Regions from separate parts of the Homo sapiens genome. Here regions 2, 3, 4, 5, 6 and 7 are each linked to region 1. Evidence: promoter capture Hi-C in 16 types of primary human blood cells and fetal thymus (Javierre and others, 2016). All regions are on one chromosome and are shown on one strand. Each heading gives the region's core, a stretch centred on a gene start or on the middle of the fragment in contact. The rest is flanking DNA. Distances are from core to core; before and after follow the strand shown. Region 1 holds the start of ZDHHC9 (zDHHC palmitoyltransferase 9). Region 2 holds the start of ZNF280C (zinc finger protein 280C). Region 3 overlaps ZNF280C (zinc finger protein 280C). Region 4 overlaps ZNF280C (zinc finger protein 280C). Region 5 has its middle 25 kb from the start of RAB33A. Region 6 has its middle 5.3 kb from the start of SMARCA1. Region 7 overlaps AIFM1 (apoptosis inducing factor mitochondria associated 1).

Region 1 (2,921 bases), core at 236-2,735:
AAACTTTGAAATTTTTATCACGCTTAGGAAAACCTAGGCTGGTAATGTAGGCATTCTCCTCCAATCTTCAACCTTTTCTCTTATCTCCTCTTACACTTGGAAAGGAGATGCCACCTTCAACCTTTTCTCATATTTCCTCTTATATTTGGAAGGCAGGAGCCATACTGGTGAAAACAGACCTAGTGTCTTTTAAAGTCACCCTATAGTATAATACTGTGGTTCTCAATTGTTTCCCCCCTTCAATCTCAAACTTTTTTTTTTTTTTTTTTAAGACAGGGTCTCTCTCTGTCGCCCAGGCTGGAGTGCAGTGGCATGATCTTGGCTCACTGCAACCTTCACCTCCTGGGTTCAAGTGATCCTCCTGCCTCAGCCTCCCTGGTAGCTGGGACTACAGGCGAGTCCCACCGCTCCCCGCTAACTTTTGTCTTTCTAGTAGAGACGGGTTTTGCCATGTTGGCCAGGCTGGTCTTGAACTCCTGACCTCAGGTGATCCACCTGCCTCGGCCTCCCAAAGTGCTGGGATTACAGGCGTGAGCCACCGCGCCCAGCCCAATCTCAAACTTTTAATGCATGCAACTCACTCGGATCAGTAGCAGTGGCTCATGGTGGCAGTAATGCAGAGCTGGGTGGCAGAAGGAAAAAATCAATCTGGTTGGTGGGTGGGAATTCTGCCTTGGATTCTCCCCTTAATCATCATAAGCTTTCCAAACCGAATAAAAATTTACAACCTTTTTGGCAATCTTTACTTCATTACCTACCTGGAAGAATTTATGTCCTCAGTGGAGTTTCTTTAACTCCATTAATGTCAATTAGTTGTTTTAGGTGCTGCAAAATGATAATACGTTCTTGGGGACATTTATCCTTTACAACATGCTTTTTATGCTTGTTTGTGTGTTTTGATTTGAAAGACTTAGAGATGCAGGCTAGGGTGACTGGGACAGATATGGGGTCCCTGGCTACTGAATGAGACTTGGGAGGCAGATGACTTGTTTTTATGCCGATAAAGAGTAAAATCTCAAGTTGCGGTTGATTTTAAAATGCAAGCAGGGCTGGAGAGGCCCATGGCAGACCTAGTTTGGGGTGAGCACCCGGATCTGTGAGCTAGTGTTGCTTCAGCATCTCACTGTGTGTGTGTGTGCGCGCGCGTGTGTGTGTGTGCGCGCGCGCGCGCGTGTGTGTAGGCTGGTTCCACCCTTTGCTGTCCCATCGGCACTACCCTTAACCTCCGTCTCTGCGTAACTATATTAATAGAAGGCAACACTTCACATACTGGCGCTCAGACCCCAAAGAGAGGCTGGCAGTGGCTTGGCAGGTGGGCATGCAGCAGGGAGATGGGTGGAGGAGTGGGCGGAGGCATCGTCGAGTGGCGTTAGGCAAAACCAATGGCAGTTCGGGATAGGGGCGGCCGGGGCGGAGGCGCCGAGGCCGATCGGCCAATAGAGGGCGAGCAACTACTGGAGCGACCTGGTGACGTGAGGAGCGTTCCATTTGGCCAGTGGTGGGCGGTTGCCACAGCTGGTTTAGGGCCCCGACCACTGGGGCCCCTTGTCAGGAGGAGACAGCCTCCCGGCCCGGGGAGGACAAGTCGCTGCCACCTTTGGCTGCCGACGTGATTCCCTGGGACGGTCCGTTTCCTGCCGTCAGCTGCCGGCCGAGTTGGGTCTCCGTGGTTCAGGTAACGAGGGGTGGGGGCGGGGGTCTCCTGGGCTCGGCTGCAGGGTGGGCTGCCTCCCCTTCCGCGGCGCCTGGAGGCGGGGACGTCGGCACCGCCCTTCTCAACTCGGCAGCCGCCGAGCCCCTGGCCCGGGGTGACTACACGTGGCGGGGCGTGTGTGAGTGTGTACGAGCGTGTGGCTGCGTGTGCGTGTGGATGTGGCGCGCGTCCCAACCTGCCTGGGGCGGTGGTCCGCGGCGTGGCGGAGTCAGGGCGGGCCTCGAGAGGCCGCGCCCGCGGCTCGGCCCCGGACTCCGGCCTCCGGCCTCCGGCCCCCCGCTGGGGAGCCGGTCGCTGCTTCCCGACGGATTTTGATCTTTGTTCTTCCAGGCCGGCTCCCCCTTCCTGGTCTCCCTTCTCCCGCTGGGCCGGTTTATCGGGAGGAGATTGTCTTCCAGGTTAGTTTTACACAAAGGACGGGTTCTCTGCACCTCTGGGCCCCCCTCCCCTTCCCCGAACCTTCTACCTTCTCGTTTCCCTGCTCCGCTCCTAGGCTGTTTTTGGACCTTTGCCCTCTCCAGCCCGCGAGTTGGCTGTTTCTCCCTCCGTCCGTCGGGCTGCAGGCTTCCGCCTCAGTCCTGCCAGCGTGGGGCATGTGGTGTCGGTAAATAGAGGCCACAACACCACACCTGAGCGGAGGAGAAGGGTAGCAGAGGCTGAGAAACTCTGGGCCTGGGAATTCAGGATGCTGAGTAGAGATGGTACTTAGGACATGTCCCAGAAAGCGCCCTTGTGACTTTTCTTAGCTGCTGCCATTCCCCACCCCCCAACCAGCCATCAGCAGTCACCAACCATTCCAGAATCTCTCCTGCTTAAGTCAGCCTTTCACCTACAGGTCTCTGATGTGGTTTCATTAAGATTCTCACAAATGTTAGGCTAGACCAGCCAGATTGTTTCATTTCCCGGACTCAGGAAGTTGCAGAGGGTTTGATGAGGGGAAATCTGTTTTGTGTAAATACAATGCACGTATGTGCACAGAGCGTCCAGAACCTCCTGGCCCTGCCAGAGGGTGACTTGTTCCCTGCTGTGATTCATATTCGAGTGGCTAATTGAAGAAAGAAGGTGAAGTGGAGGAAGGGAGGGAGGTTTTATAAGGACAGAAACTCTACTATTATTTTTAGAGTCCTTTTAATGATGTTGAAAGAACACTGTGGCATAGTGGAACATGCCCTTGACTGGAAGTTAGCAGTATCAGCATTGCTGCTGT
Region 2 (2,921 bases), core at 283-2,782, 430 kb before region 1:
ATTTTCAGGGTCAGAAGCAAATAGCTGTATAAATAAGAAAGAAAAAACTAGCTCAAATAAAAAAAATGGTAGGATTCAGTGACAGGATTTACGTGTGTGTTATGTAAGCCACACGATATTTTCAGTCTGGGCAACTCTTAAGAGATGAATTGGGCCAGGCGTGGTGGCTCACGCTTGTAATCCCAGCACTTTGGGAGGCCGAGGCAGGCAGATCACCTGAGGTGGGGAGTTCGAGACCAGCCTGACCAACATGGAGAAACCCCGTCTCTACTAAAAATACAAAATTAGTCGGGTGTGGTGGCGCATGCCTGTAATCCCAGCTACTCGGGAGGCTGAGGCAGGAGAGTCACTTGAACCCGGGAAGCGGAGGTTGCGGTGAGCCAAGATCACGCCATTGGACTCCTGCCTGGGCAACAAGAGCGAAACTCCGTCTCAAAAAAGAAAAAGAGAGATGAACCAGTACTGCTATAAACCTTGTGGAGAAATTTGGGAGAAGAAACTTTTACAGTTCAAAGCACAATGTCTAGAAAATGTTTCTGTAAGCAGTATTTTGGCAAGTGTTTTTCTTGTAAATGTATTTACAAGTTCCAGTGATTCTCCCGCCTCAGCCTCCCAAGTAGCTGGGATTACAGGCATGTGCCACCACACCCTGCTAATTTTGTATTTTTAGTAAAGATGGGGTTTCACTATGTTGGTCAGGCTGACTGGGGTTCAGAGAAGGAGGAGGAGAAAGGCGAGGAGGAAAGGGAAGTGGTCTCAAACTCCTCACCCCAGGTGATCCACCCACCTCAGCCTCCCAAAGTGCTGGAATTAGAAGTGTGAGCCACCGCGGCCAGCCCACGGACGGACGGCTGGTACTTACATGTGCACAAGTGCAGCTACTTTACTTACCGTCGAAGGCAGCGGAGGAAGTGTAATTGACTAGCGTGGATGCAGCTTTTCTAAGCAAACGCTCGATTTAACCTGGAGTTGTCATCCCACAAAATACATTGTACCTGACTACAGAGAAACATGAATTCTGGGTCTTCCTTGTGTGTAAGAGTAAATGTATTTTTCCTTAGCATTTTTTGTACCTACTATAGGCATCCATATGGCAATTAGAAGTAACAGAGAGACAAGCAAAACCATATGTTTAAAACAAAAGGTAAAAATAACTAGTATTTTGAGACGTGTTTCAAGTACAGTATTTCCAGAAAACAATATATTTATATTTTTAACTCGTGTCTTTAGCCCTCACACACAAGGAAGACCCAGAATTCATGTTTCTCTGTAGTCAGGTACAATGTATTTTTTGGGATGACAACTCCAGGTTAAATCGAGCGTTTGCTTAGAAAAGCTGCATCCACGCTAGTCAATTACACTTCCTCCGCTGCCTTCGACGGTAAGTAAAGTAGCTGCACATGTGCACATGTAAGTACCAGCCGTCCGTCCGTGGGCGGTTAAAAGGCCCCGGATGTTCAGGGGGTGGAGTCGGCGTCTACCCATGAGGCAGCGCGTGCAGTTATATACTTCTGCCCCCGGCTGAGACGCCGGTTCCGCGCTGGAAGTCTCCGGGGGAGTCGCTGTTGCTGAGGCTGTCGCCTGAGGTTTTTCGCGCTCCTCCCTTTCCTCCTCCTCTTTCTCCTCCTCCTTATCCGAACCCCAGTCAGACCGATCTGCTCTGCTCTCGGTAAGCGGCCCCCGCCCCCGCCTGTGCCGCGCGGAAGGAGGCAGCAGCTCTCCCGCGCGGCCGAGGCAGCCTTCCCCAGAGGGCGGTTCTGAGGGCGGCTGGCTGAGGGTCTCTATGCCGGTGCGGATCGACGGGGGTGCGGGGGAGGGGACAGGCTTGGCGGCGTGGTAGCTGGTGGGCCACCATCTTGCGCCGGGCCCTGAAGGGGGAGGGTTTTCTGGAGGTAGAGCCTGGCGGCCCGCGGCGGGCAGTGGTTTCGCGGGCCGCGGCAGCTGCGGCAGCCTTCTCACCTCCTGAGTCCTGTCGGTCTGTTTCCAACCCGGTTTGGGCTTTTCATTCTGGAGGCAACTCCCTTTCGTCTTTTGTACGGTTGATACTGATGTTTGACGGAGACCCGCCCACCCTCAAGTCTCTTCAATCAAACGAAAAGAGACTTGAGGGGATTCCGAACTTTCAGGCATCAGAGACCCTGTGACCCCTTCTTTCTGCGCAGGTTCCCCCCACACAGGACCGGTCATTCCATGCCCACAACCTTGTTCTGGCCAAAGGGACTTCCCTTCTCTGTCACAGAAATCGTGCTCTATTCCGTTATTGTCTAGAGGATAAGAGCCCTGAGGAGAAACGTGGAGTTAAATACACTATATTCTAACTAGGAGGTTTGCAGGTTTTACTTAAAGAGATGGAAAAAATTATGCTGAGGTATACTCCTGCTCTAGAGATGGAGGGAGTTCCTTTCAACTTCTCTCAGGTTTTAATGCTTTTTTAAGGAGAAATTCGAGAGGAAATTGTCAAGTGAACCAGCTTCTGCAAGCACGGGAGACCTTCATCCAGGGGATTCTCTTTGTTTGGAAAGATTTGTTAGTTTTGTGGAGTTTTTTAAATCTGCGACCTTAAATTTTTTTTACTATTGTTTTCAGGTTTGGACTATGAGTTGTAATGTCTTTTAGTGCCCCTAAACATAAAATAGAAACCTAGAAGTAGAGTTTTAAACTGCAAAAGTCTCCTCTTAGTATTTGTGAGGTGTCCTGGTTTGGGGGTTACTGTGCAAACTTAATCTCCTTACGCAGAAACTTCACTGAGCCTACAAAGGCACTGATTTGCTTGTAAAATTAGGGCTGTGTACCTTTGATGTTTCTACAGCAGTACAGATTCCATTATAATCGTATCTTGCATTTGTATATTTCATTGGTAGCACCCCTTTTGAGATGGGCTGTAGGGTGTCGTTAGAACTGTTTGAAGATGAGGAAACAGC
Region 3 (2,921 bases), core at 147-2,646, 390 kb before region 1:
TGTAAAGCCATTTTGGTAGCAGTTTTACATAAGCAATATTCCATACTGAAATATTTACAAATATCTTTCTCACTATTTAAATCTTTGTAGGTATGAAAAATACTTCATATGTGTTGAAACATCCTTCTACTTCTAAAGTAAACAGTGTTACTCCAAAAAAACCAAAGACCAGTGAAGATGTTCCTCAGATAAATCCCTCCACTTCATTGCCTTTAATTGGCTCTCCTCCAGTGACATCCTCCCAAGTTATGCTGTCAAAAGGTAAACATGAAATCTGACATGTAAAAAAAAATAGTATTATTTTTATATACGTTTTAGAAATTGTGATGAATTTTAAAACCATTATTAGTGGTCATTTAAGGTTTTAAAAAGATGGATTTGAGTCTTAAAAGTTCTTAATTTATTGTAGGTACAAATACCTCATCTCCATATGATGCTGGAGCAGATTACCTAAGAGCTTGTCCAAAGTGCAATGTTCAGTTCAATCTTTTGGATCCTTTGAAATACCACATGAAGGTAAAACTTTTTTCAAAGTTCAATTGTTAAAAATGTTTTATAGATCCTTGAAAATATTGAAAATTGATATACAGTAAATGCTGGTTTATCCAGATATTTAGAGAAGAAACCTCGTATTGGCATTTCCATGTAACTTAAGTTAAAATTGATATTCACAATGATTATATAAGATTTTAAAATCCTTTCCAATGATGAAATTTTTAAAATAAAGTTATGGATAGAACTGGAAGCCATTATGTTAAGTGAAATAAGCCAAGCATAGAAAGACAAATGGACGTTGTCACTCATATGTGAGAGCTAAAAAAGTTGATCTCATAGAGGTAGAGAGTAGAACAATAGTTGCCAGAGGCTGGGAAGGGTATGTGTGGAGGGGTAGGAGAAGAGGAAGAGAGGTTGGTTATTATGCACAAATATACAGTTAGATAGAAGGAATAAGTTGTAATGTTTGGTGCAAAGTAGAGTGAAAAATAGCTAGGAGAGAGCACTTAGAATATTGCCAACGCAGAGACATGGTAAATACTCGAGGTAATGGATACCTCAGACATCCTGATTTGATCATTACATATTCTGTGCACTTAAAATATCACATGTACCCCATAATAATTTATAAACATTATGTATCAATTTAAATTTTTTAATTAAGTTCATATGCAGTACAGTGTATGCATATTGTATTTTATTTTTATTTATTTATTTATTTGAGACAGAGTCTTGCTCTGTCACCCAGGCCGGAGTACAGTGGCACAATCTTGGCTCCCTGCAACATTTGCCTCTCCAGTTCAGGCGATTCTCCTGCCTCAGCCTCCCGCGTAGCTGGGATTACACGTAGCACCACCATGCCTGGCTAATTTTTGTATTTTTAGTAGAGACGGGGTTTTGCCATGTTGGCCAGACTGGTCTCGAACTCCTGGCATCAAGTGGATCCACTGGCCTCAGCCTCACAAAGTGCCGGGATTACAGGTGTGAGCCACTGCGCCTGGCCTGCATTTTAATTTTAAATGAAAATAATGTACAAATTGCAATATTTTATTGACTAAATTATGACATTCTTCAAACTTCCTGTAAAGCAGGTGTTTTATTAGGTGCTTAATCTTTTGTGTAAAGTGAAAGCTCCTTTTGTTTACCTTATTTTTTGCCCATGGTGACATATCCATGTCGCATTACCCTGTGAAAACCTTATTTTTGCCCGTGGTGACTTAATGCATGTCACATTACCCTATGAAAACCTTAGTCTTACATTTTAATTTTCAACACTCAGAAATAAACTTCTAATGATGGAGCATTTCATATGAAATGATAGTTTTAACTCAATCCATAATATAGTTTATATAGTTATAAATGAATTCTAGCTTTCTATTAATATAGGAAGCTCTTTGAAATTAGGTTTTAGGTAATTTTCACAGTACTAATAGAGTATGGGATTAAGGTAACACGCCACTTAAAATATTTTAGTAGATATTACAGTATTCTGTTATGTGTGTATAAAGATAGTCTGTATTCTCTTTGCATGCCCAGTGTAAATGACAGGAAGGGGCAAAGGAGGCAAGAAAAAAGTCAGTGTTGATTATATGTGGGAAATAAGTGATGAGACGAGTGCAAAGCAAAGAAGCAACTTAGGAAAAGGAATTGTTCACTATTTCAAAGATTGGCAAATTTTTATTAAAATTCAGCATTTTACAAAAAAGGAATTCTAAAATTGCAAATACAAACGTCTTTACTCTGACGCAAAACTGTATTAGAGTCTTTGGCTGTTTTCACCTCCCTGAGTGTGTTTGGGAAAGGGGAATCCAAGTCTCACATTACCACTGTTTCCCTTGATATCTTCCAATTCTGTTTCATGGTGTTGCTCTTTAGGACATAGATGTATCCATCTCTTACGATTCATTGTGGGTGCACCCTTTAGCATTTTTATAGTGTCCTTTTTGTCTGTTCAGTGCTTTTTGTTTGATATCAGGCTCACAACCCTTGCTTTCTTATTGTTTCCACCTGCCTGTTATATTCTTTGCTTATCCTTTTACTTTCAACCCTCCCAAATCACTTTGTTTTTGTTCTTTCTTGCTTTCACCAGAGTTTTTTCTTTTGTGATCCTATATGAAAACTTCTTTTCTTTTAGAAGTTGAGTTAAACCCATGTATATTCATTGGTAGGAGAAATTTAACTGGTCTGATAGGTTTAATTGGTCTTAGTTTTGTCACAATGCTTTGTTATGCTTTCTTTGTCCTTTTTTTTTTAAAAAAAGTCTTTCACTTTGTGATTTTAGGAAAGTTTTTCTTTTGTTTTCCACCCTTGTTTTAGTGTGTAGTCTTGTCTTTATTTAACGCTTTATTTAGTATTTATTTAGTATGTAGTCTTGTCTTTATTTAACACTTTATTGAGGTATGATTGACCTATAAAAATCTGTATTT
Region 4 (2,921 bases), core at 161-2,660, 370 kb before region 1:
GCAAATGAGAAAAAGGTACTTTTTACAACTGCTGAGCAGAACTTGAGTCATTGTGTTTATTCTCTAATTTTCATCTTTTACACTAAACTTATATTTTGTGCTTTTATCTTATGATAGATTAATTGGTTTATTTGATCCCTTTTATTCCAGGGAAATGTTAACTGGTGTTAAATTTTTTACACTTACTCTAGCTTGTTTCAAAGCAAATTTTGAAATTATGAGTCTACTTAAAGATACCAATTTAAACATTTTGGCTTCAGTTAATAAAATGTTAATAAGATTTTCCCCTGTTATTTTTGTTTTATAATCTCTTTTTATCTTTTTTTTCCGTCTCCATAAGGTGTCGTCGGGGAATTCACAAGTGCATTGAATGTCATTCCAAAATAAAAGATTTTGCAAGCCACTTTTCTATATACATCCACTGCAGTTTTTGCAAGTACAATACTAACTGTAACAAAGCCTTTGTAAATCATATGATGAGGTAAGTTAAACATGTAAACTGCCAATCAGAATTTCCATTTGGGTCATTTGTTTTTTGAAAACAGAGTTATCCTATTGAAAGCAAGTTTGTCTCATCAAGGAACTAAAAGGGTCTAGCAATAGGGAACTTCTAAGATGTTCCTTGTACTATTTTCCAGCATAGTAACTCATAAAATTACTGGGACAAAAACTCTGAGAACAATTAGACTAATGAAATTAAAATGAGTTTGTTAGGGAAATTTGTTTTTTCTATGGGACTTTTTTTTCTTTTATGTCTTTCAAAAAGTGGTTATTTTTTAACATAAAATGTTAAGTGTTTTCAATATATTTATCAAATAAATATGATCAGCTCTTGCATTCCACATCTGTGGATTCAACCAACTGTAGATAAAAGTGTTTTTAAAAAATTAGGTCTTTACTGAACATGTGCAAACCTTTTTCCCATTATTCTCTAAACAATACAGTATAAAACTATGTAATAGCAGTTACATTGTATTAGGTATCATAGGTTCACAAATCTAGAGATGATTTAAAGTATACAGCAGGATATGTATAGTTTATGTGCAAGTACTATGCCATTTTATATCAGAGACTTGAGTCTCTGCAGATTTGGATACCTGCAGGAGGTCCTAGAACCAATCCCCCATGGATACAGGGACCCCTGTATATGTAATTTCCTGAGTGTTATCCTCTTCACAGCGATCACTTTGAGAGGTTCCAGGCTTTTTAATGATGCTAAGAACATTATCCTGTCTCTGTCTCCCGCATCTGTCTGTCCATTTGTCTTTATGATCATCCATCTTTGCATTCATTCAATGAAACATAAGAGACTGTAGGAATATTCCAGTCATGATGCTACCGTTAGAATTCCTTTTCATGCATTGATTCAACTTAATTTGAGCACCTATGGTCTACTCTACACAAGGGAAAGACTTCAGAGCCCCCCTTACTTTCATTTGAACCTCATTCACAGGGGCTTGCTTTATTCCTTCAGATTGGATTTTATTTTAAATAACCAAAAAGTTTCCAGATATAAGTTCATTATTCTAATTAAGATAGTTCCATTTATTTTCAGTTAGAAATAAGATACAACTAGCCAGGCACAATGGCTCATGCCTGTGATCCCAACACTTTAAGAGGCCAAGGAGGGAGGATTGCTTGAGCCTAGGAGTTCAAGACCAGCCTGGGCAACATAGCAAGACCTCATTTCTATTTTTTAAAAAAGAAATAGGTATAACCAATAAAAGTTGTTTTCTTGCAGATTATAACAAGACCTCTATATTATTTTCTGCTCATAATCAGCTACCACTTTGAAGGATTCACCCACGTTTTTTGATGGCTTCAGCACCTGGCTTGCAGGGATTTTTTTCCCTTTGGTGGTCAGCCTGACCTTATGATACCTTTACTTCTTTAGTGCTAGCACTTTACATCCCTTTCTGCTTTGTTGTATCCCCTTTCTTAACACCATCCCATTTTACCTCATTGTAGACAATACTTATTTTGAATTCTCATTACCCCATGACTTTCAGAGTCTTGACCCCTTTTTCTAGTCCAGTAGTATCAATTCAATTTTGTAGCCAACCATGCCCTCAAGGTCTTCTGTTTTGAATGCTGCTTTGTTTCTGTCCTAAAATCCTTTATATCTTCAGGCATGCTTAGTCTTGCTATCTTTGCATCTTTTATCCTTTTTGATGTATCCCTATGCTCAGTTCTAGACTACCACACCATGCTTGATTCAATCAGCTCTGAATTCATGATCTTTAATTTGGTCCTGCCCTTTTAAAAATACCGCTTTGTTTTTGTTTCGTTTTGTTTTGTTTTGAGATGGAGTCTTGCTCTGTCACCCAGGCTGGAGTGCAGTGGCATGATCTCGGCTCACTGCAAGCTCCGCCTCCCGGGTTCATGCCATTCTGCTGCCTCAGCCTCCCCAGCAGCTGGGACTACAGGCACACGCCACCACGCCCGGCTAATTTTTATTTTTATTTTTATTTTTTTTGTATCTGTAGTAGAGACGGGGTTTCACCATGTTAGCCAGGATGGTCTCGATCTCCTGACCTCATGATCCGCCCGCCTCGGCCTCCCAAAGTTCTGGGATTACAGGCGTGAGCCACCACGCCCGGCCAAAAATACCACTTTGTTTTTATCTACAACATCTGTCAGATTTTATTCTAGTCCCTCAGTTGTTAACCTTGCCTAATAATTACTCAGAGGTCATACTTTTCGTTTTTCTCAAGATTAACTTTTTCCTGTCTCAAGGTTTTTTTTCCTTCAGACATTAATCTCAAAAAACAGACATGTCCCACTTTTTTTAAGTTAACCCTGTTCGTCATCTCTTGCATTTCCTCCACACCCTTATTTCATTATTTTGGACCTTCAGTTCATCTCTTTCTCTCTACCACATTCATTGTGTCTGTAGATATTTTCAGGCTTGTTTTTAGGAT
Region 5 (2,921 bases), core at 247-2,746, 350 kb before region 1:
AGTAATCACGGTTTTTCCCATTACTTTCAATGGCAAAAACCGCAATTACTTTTGCACCAATCTAATAGTATTAAGATATTTCCCCTATATTATGCTACCTTATACTTGGCCACACCATAGTTCACCTCATGCTCATACTCATATACCTCTCTTCTCTGATTTTGAAACCCTTCTGCAGTTTGATTCTTGTCAGTTTGGTATTTGACCACCTGAAAAAGCTTAATATCATCAACAAACTTGGAGAGGCTGCTGTGCATGACTTCTACTGTTTCTAATCCTCCACACTGAAAAATATCTGTTTGTCCATACCACTGTGATATTCGGTGGCTGGGGGGGCTGCTGAAGAGAGTGTAGCCTCGAAATAACAGTCCTAGGTTTCAATCCTGGTTTTGTATCTGAACAGCTGTGTAGCCTTGAGTAAATTACCTGAACTTGTTCAGTCTCAGCTTCCTCATCAGTGAGAGGCATGTAATGGTGATATTCTTGCAAAGTTGTAAGGAATATATATACACAAACGCTCCTCAACTTACAATGGGGTTGCATTATGACATACCCATCCTAAATTGAAAATATCATAACTTGAAAATGCATTTAACACACCTAACTTACCTAACATCGTAGCTTAGCCTAGCCTACCTCGAATGTGCTCAGAACACTTACATTAGCCTACAGTTGGGCAAACTCTACTGGCAACACAGTACAATGTGTTTTTGGTTGTTTACCCCTTGTGATCTCATGGCTGCCTGAGAGCTGTGGCTCGCTGCCACTGCCCAGCATCACGAGAGAATCTCCTAATGCATATTGCTAGCCCAGAAAAAAAAATTGAAGTACAGTTTCTACTGAAGGTGTGTGTATCCCTTTCACAGCATTGTAGAGTCAAAAAATCATAAGTTGGCTGGACGTGGTGGCTCATGCCTATAATCCCAGCACTTTGGGAGGCAGAGGCAGGCAAATCATCTGAGCCCAGGAGTTCAAGACCAGCCTGACCAACATGGGGAAATCCCGTCTGTACTAAAAATACAAAAATTAGTCGGGTGTGGTGGTGCACGCCTGTAGTCCCAGCTACTCTGGAGGCTGAGGTGGGAGGATCACCTGAGCCCAGGAGGCGGAGGTTGCAGTAAGCCAAGATGGTGCCCCTGCACTCCAGCCTGGGCGAGGGAGAAAGACTCTGTCTCAACAACAACAACAAAAGTCATAAGTCTGGCCGGGCACGGTGGCTCATGCCTGTAATCTCAGCACTTTGGGAGGCCAAGGCGGGAGGATCACAAGGTCAGGAGTTCAAGACCAGCCTGGCCAACATGGTGAAACCCTGTCTCTACTAAAAAAAAAAAATACAAAAATTAGCTGGGCATGGTGGCGTGTGCCTGTAATCCCAGCTTCTTGTGAGGCTGAGGCTGGAGAATTGCTTGAACCTGGGAGGCGGAGGTTACAGTGAGCCGAGGTGGCGCCACTGCACTCCAGCCTGGGCAACAGAGCACGACTCCATCTCAAAAAAAAAAAAAAAAAAAAAACTCATAAGTCAAACCATTGTAACTCGAGGACCATCTGTATATTATATATGTATAACGTTTGGCTCTGGCGTGACAGAGTAGACAATGAATAAACAATGCTGATGTTACTGCTACTCCTGCTGCTGCTTCAGCTGTTATTGCTGTTAATTCTGTTACTGCTGTTACTATCACTACTGCTGAGACCCTGGAAACAACACATCAGTGGAATCTTCTCTGACAGTTTTAGTGGCAATCCATCAACATTGTGGTTATTCATAACTTTGGCTTATAATTCCCAGGTCTTGAAGTACATTCCTTCAAACTGTCGGGTGGATGACATCTTATCACAGTGCTTCAATTACATGTGGCATAATTCTCTAATGTCGGAAATGAGCGTAGCTCTGGCTTTTTCTGTCTAAGGACTACGAAATGACACTGCCTTATTGAAAACTACTACGGAATCCTGTCTGCTCTGGAGGGAAGCATTCCTTTTGTGCTAAAGAACCCCTTCTTTAAAAGAAACTTCTTTATTCATTATTACCAGTAATTCACTTCCAGAAATAAAGGAATCTTGAATCAATGAAATCTTGGGTACTTATTCAATACAATTAATTATATGAAAACGTAATTTTTTTTTCTTTTTTTTTTTTTTTTTTGAGACAGGGTGTTGCTCTGTCACCCAGGCTGGAGTGCAGTGGCACGATCTCGGCTCACTGCAACCTCTGCCTCCCGGGTTCATGCGAGTCTCCTGCCGCAACCTCCTGAGTAGCTGGGATTACAGGCACCCGCCATCACGCCCAGCTAATTTTTTTTGTATTTTTAGTGGAGACGGGGTTTCCCCATGTTGGTCAGGCTGGTCTCGAACTCCTGACCTCAGGTGATCCACCCGCCTCAGCTTCCCAAAGTGCTAGGATTACAGGCGTGAGCCACCGTTCCTGGCCAAAAACATGTAATTTTAAATAGCAGTAGTAAAGTGTTCTTTCCTTTTGTAGGACTTTTAAAATGATTGAGAAATACCTTACTTTCTCAGAGAGTAGGGATATTTTCACTCAATCTTGAAATCGTCCTTTTCTGTTTTCCCCTTATCTCCATTTTTCCCCCTCGTCTATCTTCTCCAGTATGTTCTCCTAACTAGATTATCATAACATAGAATCGAAGGAAAGTGTTAAGTTGTGTAAGTGTTTTTCTTGATAAAATAACAGAAGAGGGTATTTCTATCTAGCAAATCTTCAGTGCCTCAGAACATAAGAATCCTTGATAAATTAGTAGATACCCCAAGCTTGGAAAACTCAGCTACTTAACAAGTTGTCTTATTGATTGAGTCAAATCCTTAAAGGCCACAATTTGAAGTAATTTCAAACAGTTGATTTAGTTCTCTTGGTAACTTCCAAGTGGCTTTGCGGTCAAGTTACCTCAGTTTTGAATAATTTA
Region 6 (2,921 bases), core at 210-2,709, 320 kb after region 1:
ACTACCTGGCCCTTTACAGAAAAAGTTTGCTGGTCCTCGTTCTAGGTCACTAGTTCTCCAAGTGTGGTCCCCGGACCAACAGCATCAGCATCAGTGGAGAAATTGTTAGACAAATTCTTGGCCCCACTCCAAACTTACCAATTCAGAAACTCTGGGAGTGGGGCCAACTATCTGTGTTTTAACAAGCCCTCCAGATGATGCTGATGTGCTCAAGTTTGAAAACCACTGATCTAGGCCCAGGACAAGGACCCAATCCTTTTTTTTTTTTTTTTTTGAGAGAGAGAGAGAGTGTGTGGTGTGTGTGTGTGTATGTAGACATTATTGTCTTTTGTCTTTTGGTATCTTGTTCCACACGCAGTGGGTAAGCTGGGGGAGAGCCCTGAAAAATGTTATGTAAGTGTATTATTATGCATGTGAAATCTGGCAAGAATGGACACTCAGGACAAGATTGAAGGAAGAGAAATGGGAGAAACCAGAAGGCAACATAGAAGCTGAAGAATATGTGTGGAGTGGGGAGGGCATGATGTAGCTAGGGAGCCAGTCCCTGAACTGCCTTCCCTCCTACCTCTTACTATTATTATGTATTTTTTGAGATGGAGTTTCACTCTTGTTGCCCAGGCTGGAGTGTAATGGCATGATTTCAGCTCACTGCAACCTCTGCCTCCAAGGTTCAAGTGATTCTCCTGCTTCAGCCTCCCAAGTAGCTGGGATTATGGGCATGCGCCACCACACCCAGCTAATTTTGTATTTTTATTAGAGACGGGATTTCTCCACGTTGGTCAGGCTGCCCTCAAACTCCCGACCTCAGGTGATTCTCCCATCTCGGCCTCCCAAAGTGCTGGGATTATAGGCATGAGCCACCGTGCCTGGCCCCTCCGGCCTCTTTTTAAACAAAGACAAATCGAGTATGACTCCTGTCCTCAAAAAAGTCACAGTCTAAGTAGAGAAGTAGCCTAACCCTCTTCTCCCTCATTACTGCCTTTCTTCAGAACTTACCTTTGGGGAAGTGTAACTGCACCAAATTGCTGACCCTGATAAATGATAATGAACAGAGAAAATGAACTTGGCAAACAGCACTTCCGCCTTATTCCTATTTTAGTTTAGCACTGACTTTCAGACTTACTTTATCATATTCTGGCTTTTTCCTTGGCTTAGCCAAAACTCAAAGCAGCACCCTGCTTTTTTCTTTTTGTTAACTACCATCCACTGAGTATCTGTTATATGCCGGGATCATGTTAAATGTTTTATACACATATTTTACATTAAATCCTCATGAGATCACGTTGAATTAGGTATTATTATACCCATTTTACAGATGCAAATCAGAGGAGAGAGAGGTTAAACAATTTAGTAGAATCTGAACTCCAAGTCTTTCTGACTCTACAGCCAAAGCTGGTAATAATTGTACTATTTTGCCTCTAATAATACCGCCATGGATAATATTGTGCCTTTACATACATAGTAAATACATGGAAATCAATGGTAACATGTGCATCCATGAGAATTTCTACTTGCATGTAATAGAAACTAACTCTGACTTATTTAAGTGGAAATAAAAAGTATTAAATAGTGAAAAAATATTGGGCCTTTAGCAAACCCAATTCAGATTATTTAGCATGTGTTTCGTGTTTTAGGGCATGTATGGGTGGGTAGAATGTCAGGGTTGGGAGCATTTAAGAAAATCTTGCTGGGCGCAGTGGCTCACGCCTGTAATCCCAGGACTTTGGGAGGCCAAGGCGGGCGGATCAAGAGGTCAGGAGTTTCAGACCAGCCTGACCGACATGGTGAAACCCCATATCTACTAAAAATACAAAAATTAGCCAGGCGTGGTGGCACACGCCTGTAGTCCCAGCTACTCGGGAGGCTGAGACAGAAGAATCGCTTGAATCCAGGAGGTGGTGGTTGCAGTGAGCTGGGATTGTGCCACTGCACTCCAGCCTGGGCGACAGAACGAGACTCTGTCTCAAAAAAAAAAAAAAAAAAAAGAAAGAAAGAAAATCTCATTTTTTTTCCTGAGCTAGTTTTGCAAAATTGCTTAAAAGTAGAAAAATCATTTTATATACCGCCTAAAACAATGTCAAAAATCATTCCTCAATCAAGTAACATTATTGTGAACCGTATAATACTCACATTGCTTCTGCTACATTATACATTACTACTGCATTGTCTCTTCTGTGTGAAATTGTTCTGTTCATTTTTTTTTTCGGGACGAAGTCTTGCTCTGTCACCCAGGCTAGAGTGCAGTGGTGTGACCTTGGCTCACTGCAACTTCCGCCTCCCGGGTTCAAGCGATTCTCCTGCCTCAGCCTCCCAAGTAGCTGGGATTACAGGTGCCTGCCACCACACCCAGTTAATTTTTTTTATTTTTAGAAGAGACGGGGTTTCACCCTCTTGGCCAGGCTGGTCTCGAACTCCTGACTTCATGATCTACCCACCTCGGCCTCTCAATGTGCTGGTATTACAGGCGTGAGCCACTGCACCTGGCCTGTTTTTTTTTGTTTTTTTGTTTTTGTTTTTGTTTTTGACTCACCCTATCTACAAGGTCATACTCCTTCTGTTAAGGATTAATTTCAACTTGTTCAGTTTTGAGTAATACGTTTTGATTCATCTATAAAATGGTATTTATCTATTACATAAAGAAACACCTTCATTGAGGAAAACTAGAATAGAAAAGCAAAATAAGAAAAAAATATTACACACAATCCCACCACCTTGCTGTATGTAACTACTGGTTTAACATTTGGAGTAGAACCTTCCAGGGTTTGTCCTTTGTGGAAATACATTTATGTAAATAGTGTTTTTCAGTGTGTGTGTGTGGTGAAAATGGGATCATTCTAACTTTTTGCCTGTATGTTTTCACTTAACAATATACAGGAATATATTTTCATGTCAACAGATACCTGATTACATAATCATTCATT
Region 7 (2,921 bases), core at 422-2,921, 310 kb before region 1:
TGGAGTGCAGTGATGTGATCTCAGCTCACTGCTGCAACCTCCACCTCCTGGGTTCAAGCAATTCCCATGCCTCAACCTCCCAAGTAGCTGGGACTACAGGCGTGCATCACCTCACCCAGCTAATTTTTGTATTTTTAGTAGAGATGGGGTTTCACCATGTTGGCCAGGCTGGTCTCAAACTCCTCACCTCAGGTGGTCTGCCCACCTCAGCCTCCCAAAGTGCTGGGATTACAGGTGTGAGTCACCATGCCCGGCCAAAAGCATTGTAATGTTAAGTCATTCTTGCCTACCTTTTCTTTAAAAAGTCTCCAATAGGCCGGGCGCGGTGGCTCACGCCTGTAATCCCAGCACTTTGGGAGGCCGAGGCGGGCAGATCACGAGGTCAGGAGATCGAGACCATCCCGGCTAAAACGGTGAAACCCCGTCTCTACTAAAAATACAAAAAATTAGCCGGGCATAGTGGCGGGCGCCTGTAGTCCCAGCTACTTGGGAGGCTGAGGCAGGAGAATGGCGTGAACCCGGGAGGCAGAGCTTGCAGTGAGCCGAGATCCCGCCACTGCACTCCAGCCTGGGCAACAGAGCGAGACTCCGTCTCAAAAAAAAAAAAAAAAAAAAAAAAAAAGTCTCCAATAAACTCTGGTACTGTATGTTAAAAAAGAACAACACACAACTGGTCATAATGGTAAAATTACCCTTTTCCAATTTGAAAGGATAGAGAAGATAGAATATTTGAAATGTAACAGGTGTGTTTAAGCAAGGTGTTTGACCCCCTAGTAAATATCTGTGTGTAGTTTTTCTGAATGAGATTCCTTCTACCTCGTGAGTTTAAGAAAAGGATAGACCATTGAGGGAATGATGGGTAACTCTCTAAAAATAGAATACAGGCAGCCATGTTTCTGACCACTGTGTGAGTACTTAGCAAAAGCCGGAATGTTGACCAGGAAAACTTATGTCCCAGCTTCCTACCCGGGACCCTATAGATTGATTTCACAGCTAGTGTCCAGCGTAGTCCAAACCCCGTTTCTGTGCTTCATATATAGATTAGCCCTTTCTAGCACTTTATTCTTCTAGTATAAAATGATTTTTTCTTTTTTCTTAAACTGTACCTTCAGAATAAAATATGGGGAGAATTCTTTATAGAGAGCCTAAAAATCTGAAACTGGAATATTTTCATCTGCTTACACATATTTTTTCCATACCAAGCATGTGCACACCCAGTATTTTTTATTTCTTAAGAAAACAACTTTGTCTTAGTGGTTTTGACATAGAGGAACTAACATCAGATAGACAAAAGCTTCTCATTTAATTGAAAGATAATATTACTTACAGTATGAGCTAGCTGTATGGTGAAATAAACTTTCTCCATGTTTGGATCCGCAGGCCTACAAGACTATGAAAGAGGATGAAAAAAGATACAATGAAAGAATTTCAGGGTTAGGGCTGACACCAGAACAGAAACAGAAAAAGGCCGCGTTATCTGGTGAGTATTCCCTTAAGTCTTGCTATGATTTGAGACTCACAAAGGGAAAGTTATAAACAGTTTGGGTGCTGTGATTTATGGATGTCTTGTAGAAGCAATGGTGGTATGAGATTGCAAGCATCTAGAAAGTATGGTATTACCCTAGAACTGGGAGTGATTTAAAGCATTTGGCTGAAATTTGGGTTTGAGAATAAAGCTAGTGATAATTATGATTGGTTGTTTATCTGTATATTAATATTAGTCTCTTGGCTGGGCACGGTGGCTCACGCCTGTCATCCCAGCACTTTGTGAGGCCGAGATGTGCGGGTCAGCTGAGGTCAGGAGCTCAAGACCAGCCTGGCCAACATGGTAAAACCCCATCTATACTAAAAATACAAAAATTAGCCAGGCGTGGTGGTGCACGCCTGTAATCCCTGGTGCTCGGGAGGCTGAGGCATGAGAATCTCTTGAACTGAAGTGGCGGAGGTTGCAGTGAGCCAAGATCACGCTGCTGCACTCCAGCTTGGGTGACAGAGCAAGACTCTGTCTAAAAAAAAAAAAAAAAAAGTCTCTTAAAAGGCAAGCTTAGCAAGGAAAACTATTGGAAAAGATGGAAAAGAGATGAAAACCTTTTTTTTTTTTTTTTTTTTTTTTTTGAGATGGAGTTTCACTCTTTTTGCCCAGGCTGGAGTGCAGTGGCCCGATCTCATCTCACTGCAACCTCCGCCTCCTGGGTTCAAGCAATTCTCCCGCCTCAGCCTCTGGAGTAGCTAGGATTACAGGTGTGTGCCACCATGCCTGGCTAATTTTGTATGTTTAGTAGAGACAGGGTTTCACCATGTTGGCCAGGCTGGTCTCAAACCCCTGACCTCAGGTGATCCGCCTGCTTCGGCCTCCCAAAGTGCTGGGATTACAGGTGGGAGCCACCACGCCCAGCCGAAAGCTGTTTTTTAAATGAGGAAATTCTTCTAGTCTGTTTTGTTCCCCTTTTGAGTCTTTGCAGTTTCGAGTTGCTAAAGGTATATTTGCTTTCCTAAAGCACATACCCTAGCCATCACTTCCATTTCACATGATTCACTTCAATTTTCAGAGAGGACTGTTTTAATCCTTTAATAAGCCCCACAACTCTGGGTGGGCAATTTGTTCTGCTTTTTTCAAAAGCACCCCCTTATTCTTGAACATTGTATGATAATCCCCAATTGACCTCCTGGATTTTCTCCCTTTGTTGCTAACGGAAGGTGAAACTGAGCCTGATATTTTCCTGGTGATCACTAGGAAATTGATGGGAAGGGCAAAAGCCTACTGATGTATACTTTCTAAATGTTTTAGAAGTAACTAAATATTTAAGCTATGTCCTAGTACCAGTTCAGACCTGATGAATGAATGACATTGGTGAAATCATTCTCCTATTTTTCACTTATGAAATGAAAGGGATACTTGCTTTTCCTCTCCCATCAGGATG

The links. The method cuts DNA at HindIII sites, captures the fragments that hold promoters and counts their contacts. A CHiCAGO score of 5 or more calls a contact.
Region 2: a contact is called between the fragment with the promoter of ZNF280C here and the fragment with the promoter of ZDHHC9 in region 1, in 4 of 17 cell types (activated CD4 T cells, non-activated CD4 T cells, naive CD4 T cells and 1 more). The highest score is 6.5, in activated CD4 T cells.
Region 3: a fragment that was not itself captured here is called in contact with the fragment with the promoter of ZDHHC9 in region 1 in 5 of 17 cell types (activated CD4 T cells, naive B cells, naive CD4 T cells and 2 more); the score reaches 7.2 in activated CD4 T cells.
Region 4: a fragment that was not itself captured here is called in contact with the fragment with the promoter of ZDHHC9 in region 1 in 4 of 17 cell types (activated CD4 T cells, non-activated CD4 T cells, neutrophils and 1 more); the score reaches 8.5 in activated CD4 T cells.
Region 5: a fragment that was not itself captured here is called in contact with the fragment with the promoter of ZDHHC9 in region 1 in 11 of 17 cell types (neutrophils, total B cells, activated CD4 T cells and 8 more); the score reaches 13.3 in neutrophils.
Region 6: a fragment that was not itself captured here is called in contact with the fragment with the promoter of ZDHHC9 in region 1 in 1 of 17 cell types (monocytes); the score reaches 5.5 in monocytes.
Region 7: a fragment that was not itself captured here is called in contact with the fragment with the promoter of ZDHHC9 in region 1 in 5 of 17 cell types (M1 macrophages, naive B cells, non-activated CD4 T cells and 2 more); the score reaches 6.7 in M1 macrophages.

The regions. Positions count from the first base shown.
Region 1 is chrX:129,842,450-129,845,370 of GRCh38, reverse strand. ZDHHC9 (zDHHC palmitoyltransferase 9) reads left to right here and starts at 1,485. Exons shown (of 11, transcript NM_016032.4): 1 at 1,485-1,675; 2 at 2,045-2,112. The HindIII fragment of the contact is 4,624 bases long and covers 703-2,921 here.
Region 2 is chrX:130,267,510-130,270,430 of GRCh38, reverse strand. It overlaps ZNF280C (zinc finger protein 280C), which reads left to right and starts at 1,532. Exons shown (of 19, transcript NM_017666.5): 1 at 1,532-1,669. RefSeq lists a silencer at 1,752-1,831. The HindIII fragment of the contact is 6,334 bases long and covers 1-2,921 here.
Region 3 is chrX:130,233,809-130,236,729 of GRCh38, reverse strand. ZNF280C (zinc finger protein 280C) reads left to right here. Exons shown (of 19, transcript NM_017666.5): 7 at 91-261; 8 at 410-516. Among named protein-coding and RNA genes, the nearest start is that of ZNF280C, 34 kb to the left of the region's middle. The HindIII fragment of the contact is 6,518 bases long and covers 1-2,921 here.
Region 4 is chrX:130,212,753-130,215,673 of GRCh38, reverse strand. It overlaps ZNF280C (zinc finger protein 280C), which reads left to right. Exons shown (of 19, transcript NM_017666.5): 15 at 341-481. Among named protein-coding and RNA genes, the nearest start is that of RAB33A, 42 kb to the right of the region's middle. The HindIII fragment of the contact is 3,342 bases long and covers 1-2,921 here.
Region 5 is chrX:130,195,479-130,198,399 of GRCh38, reverse strand. No RefSeq gene overlaps it. Among named protein-coding and RNA genes, the nearest start is that of RAB33A, 25 kb to the right of the region's middle. The HindIII fragment of the contact is 2,551 bases long and covers 221-2,771 here.
Region 6 is chrX:129,527,309-129,530,229 of GRCh38, reverse strand. No RefSeq gene overlaps it. Among named protein-coding and RNA genes, the nearest start is that of SMARCA1, 5.3 kb to the right of the region's middle. The HindIII fragment of the contact is 5,151 bases long and covers 1-2,921 here.
Region 7 is chrX:130,148,028-130,150,948 of GRCh38, reverse strand. It overlaps AIFM1 (apoptosis inducing factor mitochondria associated 1), which reads left to right. Exons shown (of 16, transcript NM_004208.4): 3 at 1,381-1,480. It also overlaps a transcript of RAB33A not described here. Among named protein-coding and RNA genes, the nearest start is that of AIFM1, 16 kb to the left of the region's middle. The HindIII fragment of the contact is 749 bases long and covers 1,297-2,045 here.